Linked DNA regions of Homo sapiens: region 1 is linked to region 2. Evidence: promoter capture Hi-C in 16 types of primary human blood cells and fetal thymus (Javierre and others, 2016). All regions are on one chromosome and are shown on one strand. Each heading gives the region's core, a stretch centred on a gene start or on the middle of the fragment in contact. The rest is flanking DNA. Distances are from core to core; before and after follow the strand shown. Region 1 overlaps HHAT (hedgehog acyltransferase). Region 2 holds the start of LAMB3 (laminin subunit beta 3).

Region 1 (6,208 bases), core at 1,733-4,232, 700 kb after region 2:
CAGGAGGCTGAGGCAGGAGAATTGCTTGAGCCTGGGAAGTTGAGGCTGCAGCGAGCTGAGATCATGCCACTGCACTCCTGCTTGGGCAACAGAGCAAGACCCTGTCTCCAGGAAGAAAAAAAAAAAAAAAGCAGCACCAAAATGAAAAATTATTAAACCGAATTTTCTAGTTCCCTGAGGATTAAATCCTTAATGCAGGAGGATTGTCTCAGATAGAATGTCCCTGAAAAGCATCTAATGGCAGGCCTTCTAAAACTTTCATTCAGTCTACAAGATCATTTGTGTTCAAATTTCAGTCGCCCAATTAGGAGATCAGCTTTTTGCTAATCAGATTCTTCATGAGGCAAAGAGGTCATCCGATGTAATACCAACATCTTTTGACAGGCGAGACATTAAATTATAAGCCAAGAAGTTAAAATTACCTTCCCACTAAAGGGAAGACTACCAAATTCCTGAAAAGTTCCAGAAAGGAGTCTTGTTATTCTAAAGATGAAAGTATTTAAAAATAAATTGTGAATAGAAATGGATAAAGCTAGAAGCAGTTCTGAAAAATAGTAAGGAACTTGAGAAAGTGTTGTTGAAATACTAGGGCTTAGGCTTGTGTTTTAAAGCATGAATGATTGCTTCTGGATCTCTTAGGTTGCAGGAAAAGTCCAGACCAAACTTTCTGGGTGACTTTTAGGTAACGAAATGGGGCACTCTGGGTGCAAGACTGCTTATTTCTGAAATCGTGGTTTATCAAGGCTGAAGTTTATTTCCCTTCCTGCTCTGTCTCCCAGTGGTCTGAAGAAAGGAGTTTGTGTGTGCGGCAGATTCTAAGCCAGGCTCTAAGTCTGAGTAACTGTACACTGGCATTAATGGGATTGGCCATGGCAGAGTGGAGGGGCAGGGGCCTGGGTCCAAAGACTTGGCTTTGAGCCTTGGCTCAGTTATTTACTTATTTGTTTACTCACATATTTAGACAAAAATTGTACATATTTATGGTGTACAATGTGATGTCTAGCTATACATTGTGAGATGATTAAATCAAGGTAATTAACATACCCATCACCTTACCTGCTTATCATTTTATGGTGAGAACATTTAAGATCTACTCTTAGCACTTTTCAAGAATATAATACATTATTGTTAACTATAATCACCATGCTGTATAATAGATCCTCAGAATTTATTCATCCTGTCCAACATCTTTTAACCAACATCTTCCCCACTTCCCCCGCCCCAGCCCCTGGCAACCACTTCTGTGAGTTTGACTTTTTTTAGGTTTCACATATAAGTGAGATCATGCAGTATTTGCTTTTTTGCTCTGGCTCAGTTATTTCTGGCTCTGTGACCTCATCACATTTGTCATCTATAAAATGCCTACCTCCCCTGTTCCACTTCCACCTACTTCACCAGGCTGTTGTGAAAACAAAATGAGATAATGTGTGAATTCTGGGGTTTGGCATGACTGTCACATGTTAGAAGTACTTGGTGGGGTTGGTGGGAGGTGCTGCTTAAAATTTTGCTCTTATTTTGGCATCCACAATGAGACATACTTGAGAGGTTTAAATAAAGCAGTAAAGGCCATAAATGCGTTTAAATTTAGTGAACTCTTTGTTACTTGGAACATTTGGAATCATTTAATTTGCTGAATTTTAGGACCTAACTTTCCTATACCTTCTCTATTACTTAGAGTATAGTCATGGCTGCCATGATGGAGAGATCTAGAATAGGAGAGGCTTAAACAACCTAGAAATGCATTTCTCTTTCCTGTAACAGTCTAGATCTAAGTAGTCTGGGGCACTTTGGGGCTTGGGGGTGGTACCTGGATTTGGGGACTGAGAGGCCTCTGTCTTGTCCATGTGGCTTTCACCTCTTCATCCACGGAGGCTGTTCCAATTCTGTTCAACAGGAAAGGGAGGGAAAGAAAGAGATGGCCACAGCCATGTCCCTTCACTCACACCCTTTTGAATGGAGCTATTCAGGTGTCCACACTTAGCTACAGTGTAGTGTTGGTGTCCAGAGGAAATTTTAATTGATGTGTAAGAAGAGAGACTGAATTCTGAAAAGGGGTAGTGAGGGGCGGTGGGTAACAAGCAGTGTCTGTCACAGATGTCTGTGATTATGTCATTAACTGCCCTTTAAGAAATGTACAGATGAGGCCTGGCACAGTGGCTTGTGCCTATAAACCCAGCTACTCAGGAGGCTGAGGTGGGAGGATCACTTGAGGCCAGGAAATCAAGATCAGCCTGGGAAACATAGACCCTGTCTCCAAAAATACATAAATAAAGTGCATAGATGCATGGCAGACAGCTGATTTTAAGTTTTTATTTTATTATTGCTTTTAGAGAGGGGATCTGGCTATGTTGCCCAGGCTGGTCTCGAACTCCTGGCCTCAAGTGATCCTCCCATCTTGGCCTCCCAAAGTGTTAGGATTACAGGCATGAGCCACCATGCCTGGCCTATAGTATGATACTTGAAAGGGACAACAAGGATGGTGAACCTGTTGATTTAGAGGTTTGTATACTGTTTGTGCTTTTCAGACTTTTTGAAGCCATTTATTATTCACAGAGCACCTGGTAGTCCCTTCTTGCTACATCCCAGGCACTGTGCTAGGGGCTGGTGAGTCAGAGATCATGGTCCCTGCTATCTGAGGGTCCACTCCACAGAAGAGACAGGCATATTATGCAATGGGTAGAGAACTGTCTGATGTATACTCTGATGGGAGACTGTGGGAACTCCTAGGAAAAGACCTGACCCCTTTGACAGGCAGGATGCACATGTGTGGTGTATGTGTGCGTGTGTGTGTGTGTGTGTGTGTGTGTTGGATGCAGGATGGAGTAAGTTCACAGGGAGGAGGAAGCTTGATTGGGGTTATGTCTGTATCACCTTGAATAGTGATGGGTCTCCGGGAGTGTGAACTAACTGAATTGATGTTTAGATGCTGTTCTCTAGTGTCATGTTCATGGCTTAAAGTTTTGTCTCTGTTTCTCAGAAACTCTCAGCGTAGGCATCGGGAACCTTCGTGCCAAGGAGCCATGCTGCCCCGATGGGAACTGGCACTTTACCTACTTGCCTCACTAGGCTTCCACTTCTATTCCTTCTATGAAGTTTACAAAGTCTCCAGAGGTAAGGCCCCAAGCTTTTCAGACCTCCTATCAAACAAGGAAACTCCTGTCAAAAAAAGGAGCAGAGGTGGAAGATTCAAGAAGATGATCCAATAGTGTCAAGATGATGTGGGCCTTGATTTGCTTCCCCATGTCTTGGATAGTTTGAATCAGTGACCTGAGTCCATTGAGTTTTCTACCCTAAACCTAGGTCTTTTAGGTGATGCTGTGGCTTGTCTTCTATAATTGGTGGGTTTGATTCAAAAGCTATTGAAGGCCGTGGAGGGGATTTGCGTTCAGAATTCAAAGTAAACTCTTAAATTTCTCTTTCATCATTACTCCTCTGAGACATATTAGATCTGGGTTCGTTTTGTCTTCTTCTGTCATTTTTAGTGTTGCCTTTGTCTGAGTGTTGGAGATAAATCATCATCAGGTCACATTCCAGCCCAAAGGAAGGGGAATGGGGGCCCTCCTTTATTTTAGCGGCAGTTTGGCAAGGAGCACTAGTCACTCCTGCTCACACCCAACTGGCCAGCACTGAGTCCCACGGGCACAGCTGGGAGGCTGGGAAATAGTCTTTAGGTTGGTGGCTATGTGCTACCTAAAACTTTTTTTTTTTTTTTTTGAGACCTAGTTTCGCTCTTGTCGCCCAGGCTAGAGCAATGGTACCATCTCGGCTCACTGCAACCTCTGCCTTCTGGATTCAAGCAATTGTCCTACCTCAGCCTCCTGAGTAGCTGAGATTTCAGGTGCCCACCACCACGCCTGGCTAATTTTTGTATTTTTAGTAGAGACGTGGTTTCACCATGTTGGCCAGGCTGATCTCAAACTCCTGACCTCAGGTGATCCTCCTGCCTCAGCCTCCCAAAGTGCTGGGATTACAGGCGTGAGCCACTGCACCCTGTAGCTGGGACTACAGGAGTGCACCACCATGCCTGGCTTTAAAACTACTTTTAAAAAATAAAGTATATTGAAAATGGGAGGTGTCTATTCTTACACCAATACCATAATGTCTTGATTACCGTAGCTTTACATTAAGTCTTGAAGTTGGATAGAAGTCTTCTAACTGTTATTTGTGTTGTCTATTCTGGGTCTTTTGCCTGTCTGTATAAACTTTAGAGTCAATTTGTTGATATCTACAAAATAACTTTAGCCATAAAATAAAGATGTTTATAGCAGCTTTATTCATAATTGCTAAAAATTGGAAGCAATCAAGATGTCCTTAAGCAGCAAATGGACTAATAAACTGTGGTACATTCGGACAATGGAATTTGCCAGGATTTTCATTGTGGTTGCATTGAATCTATAGATTAAGTTGGGAAGAACTGACATCTTGACAATATTGAGTCTTCCTATCCATGAATATGGACTATTTCTCCATTTATTTAGTTCTTTGATTTCTTTCATGAGAGTTTTATTGTTTTCCTGATATAGATCTTATACATATTTTGTTAGATTTATAGCTCAGTATTTCATTTTTTGGGTGACAATGTAAATGATATTGTTTTAAATTTCAAATTCTACTTATTTCATTGCTGATATATAGGAAAGCAATTGATTTTGTTATAGCAATCTTGTTATTATAGCTTATTAATTCCAGGAGTTTTTCTGTCAGTTCTTTCAGATTTTCTACATAGGTAATCATGGCGTCTGCGAAGATGATTTTCTTTCTTTCTTTTCAATCTTATATACCTTTTCTTTTTTGTTGTTGTTGTATTGCATTAATTAGGGTTTCCAGTACAATGTTGAAAAAGAGATGAGAGGGCTTATCCTTGCCTTATTCCTAATTTAACTGGGGAAACTTCTGGTTTCTCACCATTAAGTATGACATTAGCTGTGGGTTTTTTATGGATGCTTTTTATCTAGTTAAGGAAGTTCCCCTCTATTCCTAGTTTTCTGAGAGCTTTTGTTATGAATGACTGTATTAGTTAGGGTTCTCCAGGGAAATAGAATCAATAGGCTACATATAGATATAAAAGGAGATTTATTACAAGGAATTGGCCCACACAATTATAGAGGCTGAGAAGTTCCATGATCTTCTGTCTGCAAGCTGTAGACCTGTGAAAGCCAGTGGTGCAATTCAGTTCAAGTCCAAAGGCCTGAGAACTGGAGTAGCCTATGATGTAAATCCCAGTCTGAGGGCAGGAGAGGATGAGCTGAGATGGTCTAGCTCAAGCAGTAGCCAGAAATAAGAGTGAATTCTTCCTTCCTCCTCCTTTTGTTCTATTTAGACCCTCAATGGATTGGATGGTGCCCACCTGCATTAAAGAGGGCAATCTACTGTATCTGATTCAAATGCTTATCTCATCAAGAAACACCCTCACAGACACCTAGAAATAGTGTTTAATCTGGGCACTCTTTGGCCTGGTCAAGTTGACACATAGCACTAACCAACACAATGGATGTTGGATTTTGTCAAGTGTTCTTTCTGCATCTCTTGATCAGTTTATTCTTCTTTAGCCTGGTGATGTGTTGGATTACATGATTTTTGTGTTCTGTGAGATTTTGACTTTAATATACCTGGACTGGACTCAGCTGGCATTTCTCCTGTTTCATGTATTGTCAGCTGGGGCTGCAGTCATCTGGTGGCTCGATTGGGCTCACTCATCCAGGGTGGCTCACTCACGTGGCTGGCAGTTGGTGCTGGCTTTCAGCTGAGAGCTCAGCTGGGGACTGTCAAGTGGAGTACTATGGTCCTCTCTAAATGGCTTCATGTGGCTTACATTTCTTACATTTATTACAGGGCAGCTGGGTTCCAGCTGTTGCACGTGCAGCCTGGGAAGTTATACAGGTCACTTCTGCCTCATTTATTGGTCAAAGCAAATCACAGGGCCAGTCCAGATTGAAGGGAAGGAAAGACTGCACCTTTTTACAGGTGGAGCAGCATGTAGAGGAAGAGTCTGATGGAGCCACCTCTGGAGTTTCTCTCTTCTATAATGGGTGTTATACTTCTTTACCCACATGAGGACACTGAGGCTCAAAAGTATTACTTGTCCAAGGTCATATATTTAATAATAGAAATAATAGAGCTGAAGCTTAAACCTAAGACTTTACAACTCTACTTCTTGTGTTGTGATAGCTTCTGGGAACGGGGCGAGGGGTTCCTTTGCGGATAGTAC
Region 2 (6,022 bases), core at 1-2,500:
ATGTGACTCACAGGGTGCCCTGGGAAAATCCCATCCCTTCCCAGACTCCAGCTTCCTCCTCTAAAATGGATGGGAAGGAGTGTGGACCCTGCCCTACCCCACACAGCCGTAAGGACAACGTGGGGAGCAGGAAAAGGCTGGACCCTTTGCAGGAGAAAAGCTGTAGAAAGGGCCAAGACCTAGTTCCAGCCCCAAGAGAGAGGGCTGGCTTTTCTCAGGGCCTAGACCAGCAGCCTCAACCCAGCCCCGCCCAAAGTGAATGAGTCAGAGTGGCTGACGGCCTGGAGGCAAACCTTCTCCTGTCACGGGCATGGCCTCCAATACCATTCAGGGCCACTTTGAGTTTGAGGCTCTGTGCCCACAATTCTGGGATGCAACAGGGAGAGATGTATGGCTGTCTTTAACAAGTGAGTGAGGGTTTCTTCTGAAAGGGAAGCAACCCAAAATGTCTTCAATGATGGGCTGGGGCTCGACAAGAGGGGTGGGGCTGGGAGGCCACAAAGCAGGGATTCTGAAGGAGGCTGGGGAAGGATGCTCGAAAGCCACCGTGGGGTCCCAGAGGCAGGCCTGCCTTGTGGAAACATGCCCCACCCTTGCTCATGCAGTGACCCTTCTGCCTTGAATTGGATGTTCACTCTGTTCCAATGACAGCCACAAACTCTTTTGGCTGGGGTGGAGGGCTGGGGGCTTGGCAAGGCAGGGGCGGGGGGGGAAATTGAGGACATTTCTGGCATCTTTAAATTATAGATCCTAATGCTTCAAAATCATTCCTTCCAATCCCTCTCCTAAAAGAGTCATGGGCCCAGGGAGGGAACATGTGGCCTGGGGTCCCACAGCTAACGATGGCCTAAGAGAGACCCATCTTCTGACTTTCATCCAGTGCTTTCTCAGCTTTCCCACCCCTGACTGAAAATCCCCCTGCAAGTAGGCATTCTGAGCCAGGCCAGCCCACCCTTCTCACTTCTCTTTTGTGCTCAACCCCGGATCTGAACCTGCTTTCTTCTAAGCCACTGAGGTGCTTATCAAATGTGAAAAAGAAATCAAAACTGTAGCAGACATTTTAACCTAGCTCACCTGAGTGAGCTCCCAGGAAGAGGAATAAATCAGGCCCTGAAACCAGGCCCCAGGCATCCAGAGATACAGTCCTCCTCCCGCATCCGGCCCGCACCAGGCAGGTAAAGACAGGTAACATACCTTGCTGTGTGTTCTGCCGTTCTTTCTCCAGATCGCCTGAAAGCTCCTCTTGAATGTGGGGGTCTCCCCTCCCGGCTCCAGGTTTTTAAACAACAGCCTCACCTCTGGAGACTCCCTGGCTGGGTGTAGCCCCACCGCAGGGCGGGTCTCAGGAATCTGGCAGCCGTCACACCCATCTGTCGTCACTGCACCCCCACCTCCCAGGACGGGACTGGGCAAGTGGGTTGGTCGGTCCGTCCCAGAGTTCTTGTAGTGAGCTCCACAATGCCCACCTGCCTGTGGGGGCTGCAAGGGGCCCCTCAAACAGAAAGCACAAGGCACATGTAAGTGATCATCAGAGACCAGAATTCACAGGGTGGGGAAGGGCCCTTGCATTTGTGCCAGGCAATGAACTCAGCATTTTCCCAAAGCCAGCAGGGGTCAGCTTCTTCTTGTGACCTGGACCACCCCAGACAGAAGATCAGGCAGAGAACACAAAGATTAGGGCTTATATAGAGAGTTAAAGCTCCAGACATATCACCGGGCTGGAAGGTGAGAAGACTCAAACATCCAGGACCCTGGAAAGCACCATTCCCCTCCCCAGTGAAAAAAAAAATGAAAAATCCCAGCTTCTTGGGGCATTTGGAGGATCCTTAAAAGGCAAGGTTCATCAGGAAGGATTCAAAGCTCAACTCATCCAAGGAAAGCTTAAGAGAAATGAGCAGAGTAACTAAATGGCTCGCCTCCAGCTCCCTCCACAGGGTTGGCAGGGAGCCCTGGGACAGGTAGCTGCCTGTGAGTCACTCCTCCCACCTGTGGGGAGGGTTAGTCTCCTAGCCCCTCCCTCCCTAGGCAGGAATGCCCGCCTGGAGGGCCAGAAAACAGACCTGACCACAAGTGGTGGAAGGAAAGGCTGAAGCATAGCTTGACTGACAAAGTCAAAACAGACTTTCCCTGGCCTCCTGCCAGGCCTGAGAACACAGCTTCTTTTGTGGGCTCCTTGCTCAGGGATCCTGGGCTTCCAGCCACTGTAAATGGAAGTGGCAGGTCCAAATTGAGAGGCTGGTCTCACAGGACACTCTTTCCCCCAGGTTAGGGTCAGAGAGCTTTTAGGGAAACCTGGAGGGTCAGCCAGTCCATATCTTGGCCCTGGAGAGCCTGCACTGGCACCGTTTTGGAATGCTAGGACCTCAAAGCTACTATTTAAAGGAGCTTCTTAACTACGATTCCACTTTGTTAGTGTCTCCTAAACAGAAAGTTCTCCACCATTGGAGGGTTATGTCCAAGAAATTGGCTTGAAGACCCTTAAGGGGGAAATGTAGAATTTTGTGGATTAAATTGGGCATTTCTAACCCTCAGATTCGAATTAAGCATAAGTTCAGGTAGGCAGAAGAAATAGTGTAATTAGCAAGTGGGCAGTGAGTTGTTGATGTAAGTTGATGCATAATTGATAGTCCAATAAATGTTAGAGTCTTGCCCCCTGTAAGCATTCCAGTGAAATCTAGCTCAACTCAGCAAGTAAGGTCAGTAGAAGCAGTGTCCCTTCAACACAGAGAGACCTCCCTCAAGTCCCCCACCGAGAAAGGTCAGCTCTGACTCTGACACACCTGTGTTTTCAGTTCTCCCACCTGGTGGTCTCTTTCTCTCCACTTCCCCAACTCCCTGAACTCAGAGCGCTCATGAAACTTTCGCCCTCTGCCCATCACCAGAGGATGTGACAAAGAACTCATTAATAATTAACTCAGCAGAAGAGAGCAGGTGTTGCAATCCCAGATCCTCAGAGGAGAAAAGGCAGGGCAGGTGTGCGGTGGGCCTCACCATGAGTAGCTGGGGCCCCTTAAATCCTCCTCCTCCTCCCTTTATCTGAGGCCATGAGCCCAGGTAAATACACATTCGGTGTCTCAGACTTCACAGGCTTGGGCAGGTCCTGGAGTGGTTTGGCTTCGCAGGAGGGACATGCCAATTGCTGTGCTTGGCTCTCCCCTACACTCCCGGCAAAGTCCAGGAAGCTGTTTATGCAGACCCCCAAGAGCAGCCCAGCCAGCCTCACTCCTGAGGGACACTGATCATTTCCAAGTGGGGATCCAGTCCCCCAAGAACTCCAGGGCTCCAGGCACAAGCTCTGGAGCTTCAGAACCCAATTTGTTCAGTCAAGTAGCCTAAAATAGAGCCTGAGGCCAGATCAGGGTCCAGCTAAGATTAAAGGGGTGTGGTACTGTGGCTGGAGCCCCTCAGCCTCCCCTGTGTGCACACCTTTCCTCTCTCCCTGCGCCCATCCTCCTACAACAGAGCACTTATCTGCCCTAGAGCCTTGACTTATTAGAATGTGTGCTCAGGAAAGTGGCTAGTGAAGTCATCCCAGACTTCAGTATCTTTCAAACCTCATCACTCCATCAGCAAATTCGGTCAGCTCTGCCTTCCAATAATAATCAGAATCTACTTCTTCCCTCCTGGCCTGAGCCTCTTTTCCTGGGACGTCTGCAACAGCCTCCTCACTGATATACAGTCAAGTCCCAACACAGCAGGTTATGCACCCCGAGCTCAGAATCTTCACATGCCCCTATCCCACTCAGGGCCAAGGCCAGAGCTTTTTCAGAGTCTAGGGGACCCTACACCACCTTCCTCCCATTACTCTTCACCTCTACTACAATGGCCTCTATCCCTGTCTTAGCTCAGGCTTAGGGCTTTGGCTCCAGCTGCTTCTGCTGCCTGGAACGGTCTTGCCCCTGGATATCTACAAAGCTAACTCTCTGACCTCTTTCAAAGTCTTTGTTCAGATCCTAACTTCTCAATGAGGCCTATCCTAAACACACTATTAAAATTACAGCCAACTTCCCTGCCCCATCCCTGTCCCCCATCCTAACACTCCTAACCCCACCTACCCTATATTTTGGTGAGTTATTTATTTACTTATTTGGTAGGGGGGCATCATGTACCAGCTTCTAACCAACTATATAATTTATCTGCTTATGTTTATTTTCTGTCTCTTCCCAACTAGAATGTAATATCCAAGAAGGCAGAGATTTCTATCTTATTCACTACTGTTTTCCAAGTGCCTGGCACATAGTAGGTGCTCAATACTTGTGGAATGAATGGATCCACACTAAAGTACAAACAATTGATACAGTTCAATGCATCCCCTGTGCCGTTGATGTGTAGTTGCATTCTCAGAGGGGACAATCCAGGCTTTGGGCACTGGGATGGATTACTAATAGTGGAAATTCCTGTATCAGCCAGAGTGCGGAGGTCTTTTTTGAGGCACCTATCTCCAATTACAGAAATGTCACCATATTGACAGAGGCAGTCTCCTTCTTTGCCTGCTTCTCAGTCATTCCTGGCAATGTCTCTGACAGGGTGTGGGGGTGGCATTATAAGCTACTGTGTCTATTATCCATCTGTCAGGCTCAAACCGTCCAAGTCGCTAGGGAGATCAGCCAAGATCTGATCAATCAGAGATCAAGGGATAGGGAACAAAGGAAGGAGAAAAGGAGGAAGAAAAGGAGAGAGAAGAGGTTCAGGGGGCATAGGAGAACCTGGTCCAGGCTGTGACTCTCAGGTGTTGGAGGAAGGGGCACCAGGTGACTCAAGCTCAGGCCACACCTGAATACAGTGAATCATGGCTGAGTCCTCGTCTGTGGGACAGGGTGGACTCCAGGAACGGCCCTGGGGATTTGCCATGTGACTAAAGCTTGCGTTGCCCTGCACTACAACACAACTGCTCAGCTGTCCAGACAACTGGTCACACTCTTCTCTGTGCCTCCCCAGGAACCAGGGAGAGAAAGTGGGCCTGGTGTGTTACGGAGGCACAGATAGGAGCCCAGCCTCAGGAGAGGGGAGGCTAAGCAGGACAGAAGTCGCCTGTCATGAGTGACTCTTCCATAGCCCTTCTCCTCTCCCCACCCTCACCTATCCAACCTGAATGTTTACCCAGTGGACAACTGTGCATGCAGCTTGAGCCCGAGGACTGGGAGCAATCAGGCAATCGGCCTAAAATCACTACAGCTGATATCTGCTGAGTGCTTGCTGTGCCCAGGCACTGTTCTGAGCCCTTTGCATGTATCCACTCACTTAATACCCACCACAACTCTGTGGGGATAGACAATTATCTTTATCTTGCAGACAAGGAAAATGAGGCACATTTTCGATAACTTGGCCTTGGCTAGTAACTGGGGATTTGAGCCCATGCCATTTTGCTCCAGCACGCATATTCTTAACCATTACACAGGGCCAAAGATGGGCCATATCACCTGAACTCCCAGAGTGCACCCTGGCTAATCCTTGGCCAGAGTTCACCAGACTCTGGACCTCATGTCTCCCAATGTCTAAAAACTCCTCTTTGTTGGCCAGGCGCCGTAGCTCACGCCTGTAATCCCAGTACTTTGGGAGGCCAAGGTGGTTGGATAACTTGAGGTCAGGAGTTCGAAACCAGCCTGGCCAACGTGGTGTAACCCCGTCTCTACTAAAAATACAAAAATTAGCTGGGCATGGTTGTGGGTGCCTATAATCCCAGCTACTCGGGAGGCTGAGGCAGGAGAATCGCTTGAACCCAGGAGATGGAGGTTGCAGTGAGCCGAGATTGGGCCACTGCACTCCTGCCTGGGCAACAGAGTGAGACCCTGTCTTAAAACAACAACAACAACAAAAAACCTCCTCTTTGTGCCCTTGTTCCAAACCTAGGAGCACTGATACTGTCTAGGGGCTCCAGGAGTGACACTGATGCTGTAGAGACATCTAGAACAAACCCCACCAGGTGCTACCTCCTTATTTGTTTTCCTTATTGACAACCTCTCTTCTATGGGCACAGATGGAGAAGGTGCTGGCCTCCAGTTCTTCCATCTCAGAGGCTCCA

The links. The method cuts DNA at HindIII sites, captures the fragments that hold promoters and counts their contacts. A CHiCAGO score of 5 or more calls a contact.
Region 1: a contact is called between a fragment that was not itself captured here and the fragment with the promoter of LAMB3 in region 2, in 1 of 17 cell types (M1 macrophages). The highest score is 6.0, in M1 macrophages.

Annotation. Positions count from the first base shown.
Region 1 is chr1:210,345,956-210,352,163 of GRCh38, forward strand. HHAT (hedgehog acyltransferase) reads left to right here. Exons shown (of 12, transcript NM_018194.6): 2 at 2,978-3,111. The coding sequence starts at 3,021. Among named protein-coding and RNA genes, the nearest start is that of HHAT, 20 kb to the left of the region's middle. The HindIII fragment of the contact is 279 bases long and covers 2,844-3,122 here.
Region 2 is chr1:209,651,175-209,657,196 of GRCh38, forward strand. It overlaps LAMB3 (laminin subunit beta 3), which reads right to left and starts at 1,251. Exons shown (of 23, transcript NM_000228.3): 1 at 1,195-1,251. RefSeq lists enhancers at 753-1,952, 5,522-6,022. The HindIII fragment of the contact is 2,819 bases long and covers 1-1,878 here.